Regions from separate parts of the Homo sapiens genome. Here regions 1 and 2 are each linked to region 3. The links are contacts of gene promoters, found by promoter capture Hi-C in blood cells and fetal thymus (Javierre and others, 2016). All regions are on one chromosome and are shown on one strand. The core of a region is centred on a gene start or on the middle of the fragment in contact, and the rest is flanking DNA. Distances in the headings are between cores, read along the strand shown. Region 1 overlaps PKNOX2 (PBX/knotted 1 homeobox 2). Region 2 overlaps PKNOX2 (PBX/knotted 1 homeobox 2). Region 3 holds the start of CCDC15 (coiled-coil domain containing 15).

Evidence for each region. Contacts are between HindIII fragments. The CHiCAGO score rates a contact against its expected background, and 5 or more counts as called.
Region 1: a fragment that was not itself captured here is called in contact with the fragment with the promoter of CCDC15 in region 3 in 1 of 17 cell types (M0 macrophages); the score reaches 5.1 in M0 macrophages.
Region 2: a contact is called between a fragment that was not itself captured here and the fragment with the promoter of CCDC15 in region 3, in 3 of 17 cell types (endothelial precursors, M2 macrophages and M0 macrophages). The highest score is 5.8, in endothelial precursors.

The regions. Positions count from the first base shown.
Region 1 is chr11:125,326,396-125,329,717 of GRCh38, forward strand. All of the region lies in intron 2 of PKNOX2 (PBX/knotted 1 homeobox 2), which reads left to right. Among named protein-coding and RNA genes, the nearest start is that of PKNOX2-AS1, 61 kb to the left of the region's middle. The HindIII fragment of the contact is 2,455 bases long and covers 673-3,127 here.
Region 2 is chr11:125,369,633-125,373,117 of GRCh38, forward strand. The region is part of intron 5 of PKNOX2 (PBX/knotted 1 homeobox 2); the gene reads left to right. Among named protein-coding and RNA genes, the nearest start is that of PKNOX2-AS1, 100 kb to the left of the region's middle. RefSeq lists enhancers at 1-517, 2,280-3,159. The HindIII fragment of the contact is 701 bases long and covers 1,766-2,466 here.
Region 3 is chr11:124,952,366-124,956,086 of GRCh38, forward strand. CCDC15 (coiled-coil domain containing 15) reads left to right here and starts at 1,837. Exons shown (of 16, transcript NM_025004.3): 1 at 1,837-2,005; 2 at 2,359-2,544. The coding sequence starts at 2,368. CCDC15-DT (CCDC15 divergent transcript) reads right to left here and starts at 1,626. Exons shown (of 3, transcript XR_948134.3): 1 at 1,117-1,626. RefSeq lists an enhancer at 1,497-2,040. The HindIII fragment of the contact is 8,789 bases long and covers 1-2,335 here.

The sequences.
Region 1 (3,322 bases), core at 650-3,149, 370 kb after region 3:
GCTGGAGAAAAGGTTCAGATTTGAAAGTAGTGGGGGATTAGGTAAGATTGGTAGGGTCAGGCTGATTATGAAGGGGAAGAATGGAAGCTAAGAAATATCAATTTTGTCTTTTAGGCCCTGGCAAGCCATTGTAGACTTTTGAGCAGAGGAGAAACACCATAAACAAGTCGATGAATTATTTTAGCTTCCAAAGAGCCCCTCTCTTTCTAGAGGATTGGCATCTGGTGTCTTTGAGATCAGCCTCATTGCCTTGGTGAAACTTGAGCCTTTCCCTGGGATGACAGTTGAATTTAACAGCCGATCAAGCATCATCAGGGAATGAGATCAGAGAATGTCACACTGTCAGGTCCAGCCCCTTGTTTATAGATGGCAATGGTGAAAACCAATAATGATGAGGAGGAAACAGAATTTAAACCGGTGGCATGCTTCATCCAACATCACAGAGCAAATGTGTGATGAAGCTGGTCCTGGCTGCCACACCTCCATAGCTCACCCCCGCCAGCAGGGAGGTGAAGCCTGAGGATTCACAAACATCAGCTATTAGGGACTGCTGGCGTGTCCGTGTAGGCAAACCACACTTTCATCACCGCACTCACGGAAGAAGAGGCCCTTGGTGGGCTCCAGAGTGAGAACAGATGCTTTTTTAGGCTCTTGGGCCAACTGGGACAAAAAAGCTTGGTGTTTTATGCTCCTGAGATAGATACCAGAGTGGGGGTAACCTTCCCAGAGTGGACAGGGGACAAGTCTTTAGTTTGGGTCTCTGGCCACAGATTCCAGAGGCTCGGTCTTCACTTATCCAACTCATCTGCAAAAAGCCTAAGCACAAGTTGGCAAAACAGGCAAAGGTGATCTGTGGGGAAGCCAGCCCATGTCCATAGACGGGTCCAGTAGAATGAACTTGGATAGGCAGAGAGAGGCCTGTGGGAGCTACAGTGCTGGAGGTGGGGAGGTCGTGAGGACAGAGGAACTTTATCTTCAGTGTGAAGCTCTTGCTTCCTTTCTTGTTCCCTGAACCATCCGGGTCATTGGGTCACACAGCCCCGTGTCTTCCCATCCTTCCATTTCTCTCTGACTTTCTGTCTGCATCTGTGGCTTGGCCCTGCCTGCTGTGCTGCTTATTAGCTTTCAGAGAGGAAGAGCTCTGCATGGTGACAAAAAGGAGATTGTTGGGTCCCTCTGCCTGCAATCTAGAAAGGGGCACACAGCTTGAGTGTGGAGGGCAAGAGGAGGGTTGGAGACTGGGAGGATGGCCGCGGCCATCAGGGGTCTCCTCCTCCCTGCAGTCCTGGCTCTCTGTCATGTGAGTGGTCCCCCTTGTGCTTGGTGGAATTGCTGGCAGTGACAGGAAGGAGATTACAGACTGTATTTATGCCTTGTAGCTTTCTGTAGGCTGTTGGGAAACAAATGGAACTCGGCAGTTGTCAGTTCTGGGAAGGAGAATTCCAAGTGTATTGTAGCCCTGAAGCGGTGCCCTGTGTGAGGGCATGCTGGTGTCACCTCTGATCGTCCTTCCTCTCTCAAATGTGTGTTTTATTCCCTGAGTGGAGAACAGGGTCAGCTTCTTTCCCTAATATTGGAGTGATTCCTCTCTGAGTTGTAGCTCCTCTGTGTCGTCTTGGGGTGGGGGCAGCAGAGGCTCAGCTAGAGCAGAAAGACAAGGAACACATGGCTATGGCAGGATGTCGAAGGGAGCCCTGGAACCCCAGCACCAGGAGGGACACAATGAAAGAGACAGAGGCTGGAGGCCACACCAGGCAGGCAGGGCTTCCTCCCCTCCCCAGCCCTGACCCTGGCCCTGAGCCCTGCTCTGGCCATTGTGGGATCTGGAGGCTGACAGTCAGAAGCAGCATCACACACACATTGTAGGTGGCAATTATTTCTTTACCTTCTATTTTGCCCACTAGACTGTAAACACCTAGAAGACAGGGAGAGAGCGGGGGAGAGAGAGAGAAAGAGAGAGAGTGAGTGAGAGAGAGAGAGAGAGTGAGTGAGAGAGAAAGAGAGACAGAGACAGAGACAGATAGTATGTGTGTTGTGTCTTTGATGCCCAGGCCCCAGCACAAGGTAGATTCTTAATATATGGGGACTAAATTGAAGCAATTTGTACCTTCCCAGGTACAGGGCAGGAAGGAGTAGTAAAAAGCTACCAAAGAACAGATCTGTCATTTACCAAGTCAGCCTCAGACACCCGGAAAAGGCTGATGTTAGCAAAGCTCCCAGGATTGGCCCACCCCACCACTCAGGGCACAGCCGCCTCTGCCTCTCCTTCCGGGAGTGCAACATTAATTTAGCACTTACTACTGCAGGCACTCTCTTTGGATTGGTAAGAAATAGAAGGGCAAAGAGAAGCAGAGAGCTTGGGAGAACAAAATGTCTGGAGTCAGAAGACACGCCACTTGCTGGCTGTTTTCTTAGGCAAGCCCTGTGCTTGACTTTCCTAAGCCTCATTTTCCACATCTACAAAATAAGAGCAACTACCTGGCAAGGGAAAGGCATCTCTCATACGCTGCTGATAGGATGTAAATGGGTATGACCTTCCTGCAAGTAATTTGTAAAAATTCCTTAAGACGAACACACCTTTGGACTTGGCAATTCCACATCCAGAAACTTATCCTAAGAAAATGATCAAGTCTGGAGCAAGAGTCCACTGCAAGAATAGTCATTATGTGTTTATAATAGCAAAAACTGGAAATAATCTAAACAACAAATGTGAAGAATTTGTCTGAGTAATTATAGTATACCCATAAATGGAATGCCATAATCATTAAAATTATAATATATTTTCCTCCTACATGAAAAGGTGTTTATGATATGTTGTTAAATACAAAAGGCTATTTAGTGAACAGTATGAAAATATGATACTGCTTTTAAAAAAGAAGCATTTTACTCCAAATATTAACTGTAGCTTATATTTGTATTGTAGGATTGCTACTAACTTAACATTTTTCCTCTTATTTGTCTATTTTTTACAAGAAGCATTTGCTATTTTTTAAAGGTAACAAAATCATCATATTAAAATACCTACTTTTAAAGGTTGTTTTAAGAGTTAAAGAAGATATTACACATGAAAGTACTTTGTGAACTGAAAAAATTATACAGATTTAAGATAGGACTTCTGCCCATGAGAAGCTTATAGTTTGGAAGGAGATGAAAGATATCTAAGATAACCATAGCATGAGACAGGATGTGACTAGAGCTTTCAGAGAATGACAAGCAGCATGTTATTTGGAAGCACAGAGGAGGAAAAATTACTTCTGGCTGTGGAGGTAGCAGCCAGAATGTTTGCATGAACACTGAGGAATGGTTCAGGTAGAAATATCTG
Region 2 (3,485 bases), core at 866-3,365, 420 kb after region 3:
CCTAAAGGTTGAGTAACAGACCCCACTAGGTGGAGAAATGGGGTAGGAGAGGACCTTCCAGGACCAGCCAGTGGCCAGAGAAGCTGGGAATGGGGAGATGAGACTGCACAGACACCTGTAATTAACCTGGGCAAGGTGCAGTGGGCTTGTGCTTTTGTGGGGAGCATAAGGAGGGAAGGGAGTAGCGTGGCCTCTGAAAACTGCCCGACAGCCTGATGACATATGCTTGTCATACTCTATTTGGAGCATTGCTACTCAAAGTATGGCCTGTGGACTGGCAGCATCGTATCACCTGGGAGCAGATTAGAAATGCAGGCTCTTAAGGCTCACTCAGGCCTAAGGACTCAATCTGCATTTTCACAAGATCCCAGGGGATTCCTATGCATACTGAAGACTCACCTCGCAGCTGCTCAGACCCCTGGGTCAGGGGCCTGTAGTGAGCATAGATCATGGTCTAGAAAGCCCTCCAGATGAGTGGTGTAACGAATAGTTTTTGGAAACCTAGGTTTGAGTCCCACCTCCACTGTGTCCTAGCCTCTCTGAGCTTTCATGTCCCGATGGAACCTAAGCAGCAGACTTGATAAGAATCAATGAGACGGCCCGTGGAGGCACCTGGCCCTGCGTCCAGCACCAAACAGAGGGTTTACTCTGTCCCACCAATGGGAACCATGGGTTCCAAAGCCCTTCTCACAATCCCAGGCTCGTACCCTACCCAGGCCAACCTGCAGGAGAGGTGGGTCACTGCCCCCATGGGAGCCACCACATGGATGTCACTTGAAGAATGGCCTAGACCTTTCTGCAATTAACACTTCTTCCTACTCCCCTTCCCTCCTGGGCTTTATCTTCTCCCACCGGGCTAACCACCCGCAACCCTTGGTGTTTGCCCAAAGTATGTCTGCAGCTGTCTGACCTGGAAGAGGGAATCCCAGGCAAACGCGGCTGCCCCAGCACCTCAGGACACCGAGCTGACAGCAGCACCATGCTGGCTTCCCATCTCTCTAGTCCTGCTGCTGCCTCCTGGCCCGGCAGCCCCAGGGTTGTCTCCTACAACCACATCTCACCCATTAGTACCAGCCGCCCTCTCTGCAGCCATTGCCCCGGGATGACCAGGGAGGGAGCTCAGCCTCCTGTAGGGTCGGGTAATTTTAATTAGATTTGCCTGCCTGGGGCAGCCTGGCTGCTCCAAAGCACATCAGGGAGTCGGCATTTTATGTCAATAAGTGTAACCAGACCCTTTCCATTCAGATGAGTGCCCCACACTGGCTTTTGGGAGCCCCCATCATGGCCCCTGCTAGAACCACAGATGAAGGAAGGGTGGGTGTGGCCCCTCCCTGCCTAGGACACTGCTCGGTGGCAGAGGGGCAGTGTGACAAAGGGGAGGGAGCCTGCCAGTGCCCGGGAGGTTTTATTTGTGTATGAGGATGTGTTAATGAAATGTACTGGTTCCCTTCTGATGTGGAAACTGTGGGGTGGGGGACGGAGGGCAGCGTCTGTCTTTAATTGGATCATACCAGAGCGTCATCTGGACTAATCAGCAAAGCAACCAGGGGCTCCGGCTCAGATTAATGATTGCAGTCTAATCCGAGCAGATCCCATGATTGGATGCACATCGCGGGTAATTGTGTTTGTGGCCCAGGAGCAGCACTGAGAGGGGGTCCAAAGAGGGGAGGCCGGTGGAGTGAGGGACCACAGGTTTGGACCCAGCTCAGTTCTCTCCTCCCCCAGCCCCCACCTCAACCCTGGGGTTTTCTCCCAAAGAAGTTCAAGCTTAGCTTGAACCACAAGCCCCACCCGCCCATGCTGGTGAGGAGTCCGATGTTAGGGGCTGCCTAAATCAGGGGATTAGGTTGCCAGCGGCGCAGAGGCAGGGCCAAGAGGGTGAGGTTAATCCAGCTTTCCCTCCCCCTCCTCCCCTCCAGTCTCCTTCGTTCCCCTTTGAAGTGAGTGGGTTCCCATGGAAACCATGGTGTCCTGAGGAGCGGAAGAGGGGCAGGAGCTAGGCCTGGCCAGGTGCGGGTGGGGGAGGAGGTTGGCTTTGCGAAGACTGCTCTGCTAAGGTGTTGGCTCACTTCCCTAAGGCTGAAAGATTCTCTCCGAGAACCAGGGACGCGGAGGTGCTAAAGTTGTTGCCCATTACTGATAAGGAAAAGCTGGGCTGGAGGCATGAGCAGTGAGAAGACAGTGAGGGCAGTGGTGCTTTGCCTTTCCATTAAGAACCCAGAGAGTGGAGCTGCAGGTCAGGGATAGAGGGTGAGGTGGCTTCCGGACTCTGCCTGTCTCCTTTGTGGCATTACTCACAATTGAATTAACTGTGTTAGCATTTGTGTCAACCTTATTTCTGTTTCCCCTGCTATACTGTTAACTCCAGAGGACAGGGTCTGCGTCTGTCTTGCTCATTGCTTTATCCCCAGCACCTTACATGATACCTTAGAGTCAGCAGCTTAGACGAAGTAGCTACTGCATCAAAGCTTGTTGGACGGCTTCATTAAATGGTTAGGGAGCACCCCATAAATATACCATAGTTCTAGGTTGATGTGCCGGCAAACGTCTCTCGAGGCGGGGAAGGGGAGCAGCTCCGATTCGTAGCATTTGCTGATCCCCGTGATGTAAATACTCATACCATGGCCCATCCCAAACCGCCCACCTGAGGGCACCGAGCAGTAGGGAAGACGTGAGGCTCTCGCTGCCTCAAAGCCCAAACCCCACCTAGGGAGCCAGGTTCCAGGCGCACAGTCTCTAGATTTACATGCGTAAGCCCATCTTACAGGCCAGTTCTTTAGAATGGTGTTACTGATACTTTTAGCTGCAATCCTACATTCTTGGTCCTCACTGTCCTATCTGGTCCACTCCTGGGTTCTAAATTTGAAATGTTCTCTCTTAATCAATGAACTCTTGGAACAGCACCTGGTGTGGATAGGTGTTTTATAAGTGTCTTCAGTGATGATTTTCCACCTAAATGCCAAGGCAGTCTGTCTCTTTCCATCTGCTTCAGCAGAGCCCCATCTTCACTCCAAACTTCTCCATCTTTTCCAAGTGGCTTTCAAGCCTTTCCTGGTCTATCAGCGAATGATCTCCTTCCTCGCAGCTCCAGAAACCCTGCTTCAAACCATTCTTCTGCCTCCTCTTTAGTTTCTTAGCTCTGAGAATCTTGCACTTTCCACACCATGTGTCTAGTTCATTCTGTCAGTCTCATCTCCCACACATCACAAGCTCAGAACTTCTACCCACATGGGACCACCAGAGAGCTCATGCTCAAGTCCAGCTCTAGTTCAATAAAAGCAATGTGAGCCCTGTTTATAATGCACTTGTTTCTGTCTCATGCAGACTGGATGGCAGAATCCACAGTTGTGTGGGGAGGAACAGAGCAGGACAGTAGGCAGTGTTCAGATCACTCCCTTGAGACTATCCTAAAGGTCACGGAAGTTCCCGGCATGATCCTGACAGCCCTATAGCCAGAGGTGCAAATGCAGCCATGGCCCTGTGTT
Region 3 (3,721 bases), core at 587-3,086:
GTCAGTAGGATTTAACACAGATTGTCTGCCCTCAATGGAACATTTCTTTTTCACCTGGCTTTCAAGGTATCACACCCTCATAGTTTTCTTCCTTGGTTTACTGATTAATCCTTCTCAATCTCTTAGCATTCTCCTCCTCTTTTTCTCAGCCTCTGTAATACTGACATACCCTGGGGCTGTTTTAGGATTTATTCTTTTATCTGTCTATATTCAACCCCTTGATGACTCCATCCAGTCTCATGGCTTTAAATCTACAGGCTAACGACTCTTAGATTTATATTTGTAGCCCAGAACCCTTCTCTGAGCTCCAGACACTTTTTCTCATACTATCTTCTCGGATGTTGATTAGATAAAACTTTATCTGCCCCAAACTGAACTCCTGATCTTCCCCTTTCCAAATCTACTCCTTCCACCATCTTCACTATCTCAGTAAATAGTAATTTCATCCTGACAGCTGCTCAGGATGAAACCCCTAGTTTTCCTTGACATCTCTCCCTCACACAATCCATATCCAAACCTTCAACAGATCCTGAAAGTTTTGCCTCCCAAATAGATACAGAATCCAACCACTTATCATCATCTCCACCACTACCTCCTTGATCCAAGACATCACAATCCCTTAACTGAATTATTGCAATAGCCACCTAATTGGTCTTCTTTACAGTCTATTCTCACTACAGCATTCGGAATTATTATTTTTTTAATTTTGTCACATTATGGTGTTCCTTTGCTCCAAACCTTGCTCCAGTGGCTCCCCATCTCAACACCTATGGTGGCTTACGATGTTTGATCGGATTGCCTGCTTGACCTACTGTCTCAGCATTCTTCCACTCTCCCTCTGCTCCAGTCACACTATCCTCCTGACTTTTTCTCAACCAGGCAATGCTTCCACCTTGGGGCGTTTATACTTGCTGTTATATCTGGAACATGTTTATAAAGCCTCCGTTGAAGAGCACAGTGGCTTCTTCCATTAACTCATTTAAGTCTTTGCTGAAAAGTATCTCAGTGCAGCTTCTCTGGACGTTCTAATATTTCATCCCTCCAATCCCCACCCTGCCCACCACACTCCCTATCCGCTTTCTTTGCTTTTACTCCACATCACACACATTTACTTACTCATTGTTTATTCGCTTATTTCCCCTCACTCTATTGTGAATTCCCTGAGCAGGGATATTTGTTTCGTTCATAGCTATGTATCTCCGGTGCTTGGAACAGTACTGGTTTATAAAAAGTTAGTAGTAATGTATGTTAATCGAATGAATAAATTATCCTACAGAGATAATTGAGTGTCTCTGGATTACAGCAGAGCTTGCAGCAGAGAGGGAGACCACTCAACAGGCCGTGATGTCCAAATATAATAAGATGTATGAAACAGTACTGTAAAATTAGCTGCACAAAGGATCCGAAAAATTTGTTAGCTTAGTTTGTTTCTCCAGGAAGCCGTGCCAGGCTCGCCTCCCTCTTTCATTCTTTTCCCGTGATTCCCTCTACTGGGACTCCTGACCCTCCTAGTCGCCAGATCACAGGCCCAACGCATCCCTTTCCGGAGGGATTTAGGAAGTCTCGGCGTTGGTCCAGGAACGACAGTCCCACCGCGCCTCACATGGCGCATTACCCAGCGACTCCGCTTACCCACACGTCCCCGCCCCCTCAGCCGGACAGGAAGAGGAAATGACGATACCTCGGGCGCTCGAAACTCCACCTCTCACGCCTTCCCAGCTCCGGGAGGGGACGCGGGCTCCGGAAAGGGCGGGCATAAGGCTACGGATGGGCGGGACGGAGCAGCCCACCGCAAAGTGGCGGTCTACTTGAGGCGGTTACCTTAGTACTCCGAGTAGACTGAGTCTGTGGCGAGCTGCGGGCCGATTCCTGGCCAGTGCCATCTCAGCCGGAGCAGGCCTCGGGGCCTCAGAAGCAGGCTTTTATCTGGCCCGAGGCTCCCAGCCGTTCAGCGCGTCTTCCCATAACCTATACCGATTATTGGGACTCTCGGCTGCAGACACAGGTCCCCGCCCCTCCCTCTTTCTCCGGGTTGCAGCTGTCATTCCTCCCTTCCCGCCTCGCTGCGCCCACAGCTGAGGACAGTCTTCGTTCTCTCATTCCCATCCTTTCTCTTCCCTCTCATCGCCATTTCTTCTAGAAGGCAACTTAAAAACCTTTCTTTGCCTCTTTATTTCTTCCCATTTCTCTTCCCTTCTTTTCTTCCTTTTTCTCTAGAATCCGTGTGTTTCCACTTCATGCCAGGCTTCTGCCTCCAGGGCTTCTCTCCTTTTCACGGGCCTGTGGCTCATGTGTTAGGAGGTTGAACTTTTAATGCAGTCATTTGAAGATTTTAAGCTTTTTCTTTCTCCTAATCAGGAGTCACAGATGCTGGGAAGTATGGCCCGAAAGAAACCTCGAAATACCTCAAGGTTGCCCCTGGCTTTAAACCCCCTGAAGAGCAAGGACGTGTTGGCAGTGCTGGCTGAGAGGAACGAGGCTATAGTACCAGTTGGGGCATGGGTGGAACCTGCCTCACCAGGTAGTTCGGAAATCCCAGCATATGTGAGTGTCAGTTTGATCCAAATATGGTGGGGTTCCCCACCACCCTTTTTATTAGCCTTCTCTAATCCTGGGTGCTTAAAGATGAACAGTCCGAGGATGCTGTTTCTATTCTGCCATAAATAGTTTATGCTCTTGCATTAGGATTATAGAACAAGTATTTGCCAAAACTTGACTGCAGCTTTAGTTGGCATAATCAAATATTTATTACTCACCTACTATAATATATAGAGCATAATCTACATGGAACAGGTTATATAGATATATATCTGTATATCAGTTTACTTCAGACTCTTGATTGCTTGTTATGCCCAAGACATAAGCACTATCTACATCTTCCAGACACTGCAACTTAGTATGGATGATAGTTGGCATACTTCAAGTAACATTAATTGGTTGCTTAAGGTTTATGATAAATTTTGTAATGAGGATTCAGGCAAAATGGAGTAATAGAATAAAGGAGAAAGAGATGAACTCTGATAATCTGAGAAAGTCTAACTAGAAATTCCATGGTTTCTGATAGTCTTTCACCAAACTGTGCCCCTTAGCTATTTGTTCAAATTTAACTTGGCACTTACCACATTGTGTTATAGTAGATTGTTTATATATCTTTTCCTGATGCAGTGTGAGCTCCTTGAGCGTAGAGAACAAATGTCATTTATCATCACATTCCCACTTTTATCTTAAATACTGCCTAATCAATATAGACACTCATGAAGTATTTATGAAAGGCACAAAATGTCTTCTGTATGTGTAGACAAGGTGCTGAACATGGATGAAAAAAGGATGAGATATGTTCCCTCAGTGTACTTGATCTCAGAAGAGAAATGAGATGTGTTTAAATGTTAAAGTAATGCAATATACTATATTCATTTTATTTATGTTTGCACATATGTATGTATATTCATTGATTTATTCCTACCCTGCCTATTTCCAAAAAGGATTTTAAGAGTCTAGGTGGTATCTCTATCTAAGTTCTAAGAATATAATGCTCAATCAAGAAGCTATGACGTTGGGTTGATGTGACCCAGGAAAGTGTAATGAAGAATTTGATCGGAGAAGGGAAGGGAATGATTCTCCTATTAAGGAGAATGAGGAGAGTAAGAAGTAAGCAAGGTTCAGGATTCTAAGGGTAGATTAGATCGATTGGAGTGGAAAGCTTAGTAGGAGAATGGTTGCT